2 separate regions of the Homo sapiens genome follow, and region 1 is linked to region 2. Evidence: promoter capture Hi-C in 16 types of primary human blood cells and fetal thymus (Javierre and others, 2016). All regions are on one chromosome and are shown on one strand. Each heading gives the region's core, a stretch centred on a gene start or on the middle of the fragment in contact. The rest is flanking DNA. Distances are from core to core; before and after follow the strand shown. Region 1 holds the start of MED13 (mediator complex subunit 13). Region 2 holds the start of USP32 (ubiquitin specific peptidase 32).

Region 1 (2,961 bases), core at 320-2,819, 1.7 Mb before region 2:
GGAGCGCTTACCTCATTGGATCTGGGGATTGCTGTCTCCTGGTGCTGGCACTCGGTTATAAAGGATGCCAACCTTAGTTGATTTGAGCTCCTGGATTGAATTAGTCCTGGTTGCATAATTGACTTTGATATGTGGACTTTGGGTTCGAATTAGGTTTAATAAGATTTAACTGCTTCAAAGGGCTTTATAAGAATTCATTTTATCCTTCAAATCTGATTTCAAATGCTACCTACTTTATGACAACTTCTCTAAGTTTGATGCTCTTCTTCTAGTGCACTTACTATGCCATAGTAGGTACATACTTTATTCAAGCAATTACCCCCATTGTATTTTACCTTATTCTGTAGGAAATGTTTCCTTTAGTGCCTCTCTTCAGGAATCTTGAGGGACAGGCAGGTATCTTATTCCTATTTGTATCCTAGGCCTAGCACAGAGCAGGAACACACTCAATTGAGCCAGCAGGTTCTCAATGATTTTTAAAATTACATTAATAATTAACATTAAGTAAGCACTGTGGCAAGCACTGTATCTACATTGTTTCATTCACCAGTCATTTTAGAAGAAAAGTACTTTTATTACCCCCATTTTACAATAACCGAGAGAAAGCAAAATTAATTTGATCTAAGGTCAAATATGATCTAAGACTAACTAGTGAGGGGCAGAACTTTTTCTCCAGGCTTTGGGCTTCAGATCTGGGCTCTTCACCACCACAGATGAACAAGTGGATAAATGAGGACTTCTTTTCATTCCGTGGCTGAAGAAGTGACATGGAAGAGTCTACCATTCATTTTACAGATACAATTATGTATCTGTAATACATAATACATAATTATGTATCTGTAATACATAAAATTACAGTAAGTCCTAACTCACTGATGTTTCTAACTTCTGAATCATCTTTTTCTTCTTCTTTCTTTCTTGCAATCCTAAAACCGTCAGAGAAACTGTTTTGAACTCATATTGAAGTGTAACCCATCCAAGCACTGGGTGTTTTATGGGAAAGAGAATAAACCTTTTGTTTGGTTCTTACTTCTTACCACCCATTCATTTGTAACTATACAAATATCAAGCACCTACTGTGTGCTAGGAACCTTTTTTTAGGCACTAGAGAGACAGAAGTAAACAACAAAAAAATAGTGAGACCTTTACATACACTAGTTCTCCTGCTCGTCACAATAACTATATGAGGTAATGATGACAACAATAATAGTTAACTCTTAACAGTGCTTATCTGTGCGGGGCACTGGGCTACCTGCTTAATTTGTATTAACTCATTACAATAAGCTTGTGGGGTAAGGGATATGTTTTCCCCATTTTACAGATGAGTAAAGACACAGAGCAGGAAGTGATTTGCTCAAGCTTGGAACCCAGGCAGTGTGGCTCTAATTCCCAGTCTATTAACTACAGGGCAATATTTTGTTTCTTAAATTTATATCTTCATATCACAACTTTTAGGTTGAGGAGTCTTATCCCCATCCAGATCATCTGACTCCCAAATCCAGAGGTTTGCACCTGCACCCCAGCGGCCTCGCGAAATAAATGAGAATGTCTTGGAATTTTTGCCAATACTTTCTCTTCCAAAGAACTCAAACTGATTTCCACGTAATTCTCACTGATTTGTGAAATGAACCTTCCTGGACTGTAAATTTCCCCGCAAAGAGAGGGCCAGGGCCCCGGGTCGTTTTATACTGGCCGGGGCACCCAGCAGATGGCGCTATGTTAGTGGCCACCAGCTGGCTGCCCCGTCCCCCGAGCTCACCGCCTCCGCCGAAAGCTTCCCGGCCCTCCCTCGCTCACTTCTCTCTCCCCCTCCCAACCGAGCCCGGGCCCACGTGACCTCAAGGCGGCCAATGGGTGAGCAGAGAGGGCGAGCTGGTCCCTGTGGCCGCCATTAAAGCGAAGGGAAAACCCGTGAATTCGGATTAAAGGGGGAAAAACACCGCCCGCTGGGCCCACAAAATGGGGGAGACTACGGCGTCCAGCCGGTGAGGCCACAGGAGGGCAAACTTTAGGCCGGCTTGGCCCAGGAACGACACGAAGACAGAGCCAGAGAATGGTCTGAGCCCGCAGACGCCGCCACCACCTCCGCCGCTGAGGAGACTCTGGGCTTAAGGACATCGCCGCTGCCGCGCCGGGGGCCTGGGCTTCTCTCCCGGTTCTCGCCCTTCCCGCTCCTGTGCGGGCGCCTCTCCGCCCGGGAGAACCGTCCTGGGCTTGGGCTCTGCCGTCTCGGACTTGATTTTGATTATTTATTGTGTAATTTATTATTTTTCTTGTGGTAGGGGCACACATCCCCTCCGTCCCCCAGAGAGGGACGAGCGTCTGCGGGATCCGCAGTCCGGCCCGCCAGGCGAGCGCGGCGCGGCCCTCCCGCCTCCGGCCCTCGGCCCCGGGCGGCTGGGTGCCGGCCGGGCGGCGGGGGCTGCTCGCGGCGGCGGCGGCGGCGGCGGCGGCGGGGGGGTGGGTGGGGAGGGCGGGCGCCCGGCGGCCTCCTCTTCCACCGCCCCCCCAACCACTACCCCCCCCCCGGCCCTCCCCGGTGTCTGTGTTTCTCTCTCTGGTCGGAGGCGGCGGTAATGGCGGATGGTGGGTTGTGGCGCCGGCGGCGGCTGCTGTGAGGGACGATGAGTGCCTCCTTCGTGCCGAACGGGGCCAGCCTGGAAGATTGTCACTGTAACCTCTTCTGCCTGGTGAGTGCCGGGGCCGGCGGGCGCCGAGGGAGGGGGGCCGCGAGGTGCGCCCTTGGGCCGTGGGGGAGGGGGCCGGGTCTGGTCCAGATGCCCGAGTTCCCGGGCGAGGCCCAGCCGGAGCCGGCGCCCTGCGAAGCTCCGCGGCCAGCCCCGGGAGGCGGCGTTCGCTCTCCTACGGTCCCGGGCTCTGTTTAGGGGAGTGTTGGCATTTTTTCTCGTCTTGTTTCGGACTCTCCTTCTCACCGTAGTCTCGTCCTCAACTTGAGCTCCT
Region 2 (2,971 bases), core at 201-2,700:
TTGGGTCCAATCTAATCCAAATGGTTACTTTTTCAATATTGCTTCCTTTTCCAGAAGCTTTATTCCGTGACTTTTAGGTTGAAGACGCAAACTAAATAAGAGTTGAAAATCAAGGAACTAAATAATAATTCCACTGTACATATACACCCCATTTGGTTTCTCCATTTATGGTTTCCTATAGGTTGTGTTCACCTTTTGGCTCTCGTGAATAATGCTGCTATAAACACGGGGGCACAAATACCTGTTCACATCCCTGCTTTTCATTCTTTGGGAAATGGAGAGGTGGAGTGGGAGAGTCAGTCACATGCTGCCACACCATGAACCTGGAAGGCACGATGCCAAGTGAAATAAGCCAGTCACAAAAGAGAAAGTCTGCAGAGTTCCACTCAGAGGAAATACTTAAGAGTAGTGAAATTGATAGTAGGACAGCGGTTGCCACGGACCAGTGGGAGGGGGATTGGGGAGTTACCGTTTAATAGGCACAGAGTTTCCCTTTTGCAAGATGAAAAACGGTGGGAAATGGGACGTGGCAATGGATGCAAAACAATATCAATGTTCTTAACGCCACTGAACTCACTTAGAAATTGTGAAAATGGTACATTTTGTTACGTATATTTTACCACAGATTAAAACGACTCCACGCTAAGCCTTGTAGCCCTCATGTTTCTCGGGGAGAAACTCTGGGAGAGAGGATAAGCCTTTTGCACAGCGCTTTCCAGAGAATGTGTACAAGAGGCATGGTCAGGAGGAGAAGGTGGGCCGGGCAGGCGAGATGACCCGAAAAGGCAGATCCACTTCGTTAACAAGGTCCACTTTCCTCAGGGATCTCCCGCTAGGTGTGAGCATTCTTTTGTCACAGGAAAGCCTTGAGATTCTCCTTTCCTTTCACAACGCCCTCCCAGTCAAAGACGTCCCTAAGGTTGGGAGCTCCCTGCCTACCCACTCCTTTCTCTTCTGAGCCATATGCCGCATCCCTCAGAACCCCATTCCCTAAGATTCTGCGGTCTTCCATGTTAGGTCCCGGCAACTGCCACACTAACCGTCAGCTGCTCGGACCCCACCCGCCGAACGCCAGAACATGTGGGCGCGGGGGCGGGGGGGGTCGTCCTCAAGCGCCCCGGAAGTCACCACCCCCCGTCGCCAGCGGAGGCGCCCGGGCGGGGCGCGCGGCTGCGATTGGCGGGAAGATGGGACGATGCGTTACGTGCGGAGATGCGTCCCCCTCCCCGGCGCTCCTGCGCGCGGTTAGCTTGGGGAGGGGCGGAGCGTGCGGCCCTGGGCGGCCGTTACCGGGAACAGTGTCTGGCCTCGGGTCCCGTGACCCTCGGCGGAGCTGGCGGGAGGGGGCGGAAGTGGCAAGAGGGCGTGAGGAGGGAAGGAGAGGGAGGAGAGAGAGGAGAGAGAAGGGCGGAGTAGGAGGCAGGGGAAGGGGGCGGGGCGGAAGAGTCACGTGATCCGGCATGGAGGCGGTGGCGGCGACCGGGAGGAGCCGCCGGGGCAGAAGCCGCACTTGTTAGTGTGGGGGGAGGTGGGGGCGGGGGACGCCGACACCGTCACCGTCACCCAGGGACGCCGAGGAGAAGGCGGGAGGGGGGTGGGGGCGAGATCAGGCTCCGACCCCCCGCCGAGGGGATGAGGGGAGCATGGGTGCCAAGGAGTCACGGATCGGATTCCTCAGCTACGAGGAGGCGCTGAGGAGAGGTGAGGGGGGAGGGGTCTGGGCGAGCTGCCTGGGAGGCCCGCGACGGGCAGCCTGGAGGGTGGGTAACCGGGAGGGAGAGGGGAGATTGAGGGCGTGGGGCGCCTGAGGCGGAAGGGAAAGGCGGCCGGCCTTGGGGAGTGTGGTGGAGGAGAGAGGTCGGGTGGGAAGCAGCGTTTGGGAATTAGGGCCGTTTGGAAAGGGGCTTGTCCTGAGAGAGGGGGATCGGCGCTGGCAGGGCAGTGCCCGTGCTCGCTGGTGGCGTTGTGATCCTGGATGTGTCCAGGGAAGTCCTCTCCCCGTTTTCTTGGGCGGCTCCAGCCCATCCAGCCCCCCTCATCCTTCATTGCCATTTTCTCCTATCATTCCTTCATAAAAACCTCAAATAACATCCTAACCTCGTTCCTAACAGCCTTAGCTGGAAGGGGACGAGGAGGCGGCTGCAAAGCGCTCCTCTCTGCTACTGGAAGCCCCTTCGTATCTGGGGAGTCCCTGCCTTTTCCCAGAGCCTATGCCTGTCTCTTGAGGGCTGTGGCCATCCGCTTCTGCCACCCTTCACCGTTTGAGCGGCTGACTTTGATAAGAACGATCTGAAATGAAGTTGTGTTTGAGGTGAGATGAGACTGGACAGCTGGCGTTGGCACCAGACCTTGTCTTAGGTTTCATCTCCTCCGACGTTGACCAAAGCCTTTGACTGCACTTGATGCCCAGTTCTCGCTCCATCCCTCTCCATGAAATGGCATTGGGAAGTCCAGCATTCAGATATTGTGTTAAATCTCCCTTTAGAGACTGGCCTGGCTGCCAGTCCCGGCCTGCTGCTTATTGGCTCTGAGGCACAGTATATTGTTGGCAGCCCCAACCCCCTACCACTCACTCTGATACCGCTGTCCATGATCACTAAAGCACACACTAACTGGAAGTGTCTTGTTGCACAGTTTATGGCCGGAATGTCTTAATTTTTCATGACTGGGATTTCAGTGTGTGTAGATCTGTGTATGCTTGTATTTCTTTTAGACATTTAATGGATATTCTTGGTAAGAAGTGAAAAAACATTAAGAAGATTAGGAGCTAGGCATTATTGTTAACAGGTTTCCAAGTCAAGAAATCAGCCATGCTCCAGGTGGTTTTAGTAGCTAAGGATATAAAATGGTAATTAGATTAAAAGACGGGTATTCAAAATGAGGCTTGAGAAGTGAACTCTTGTTCGTATATAGGAAGAAGAGGGGTAAGTGGGTAAGTTCAGTTGACCATCACCTGACAGTAAGATACAGA

The links. The method cuts DNA at HindIII sites, captures the fragments that hold promoters and counts their contacts. A CHiCAGO score of 5 or more calls a contact.
Region 1: a contact is called between a fragment that was not itself captured here and the fragment with the promoter of USP32 in region 2, in 1 of 17 cell types (fetal thymus). The highest score is 5.7, in fetal thymus.

What each region holds. Positions count from the first base shown.
Region 1 is chr17:62,064,869-62,067,829 of GRCh38, reverse strand. MED13 (mediator complex subunit 13) reads left to right here and starts at 2,552. Exons shown (of 30, transcript NM_005121.3): 1 at 2,552-2,690. The coding sequence starts at 2,625. RefSeq lists silencers at 1,762-1,841, 2,632-2,911 and an enhancer at 1,892-2,151. The HindIII fragment of the contact is 415 bases long and covers 1,362-1,776 here.
Region 2 is chr17:60,390,612-60,393,582 of GRCh38, reverse strand. It overlaps USP32 (ubiquitin specific peptidase 32), which reads left to right and starts at 1,450. Exons shown (of 34, transcript NM_032582.4): 1 at 1,450-1,701. The coding sequence starts at 1,644. RefSeq lists silencers at 980-1,299, 1,410-1,629, 1,660-1,719 and an enhancer at 894-1,735. The HindIII fragment of the contact is 3,969 bases long and covers 60-2,971 here.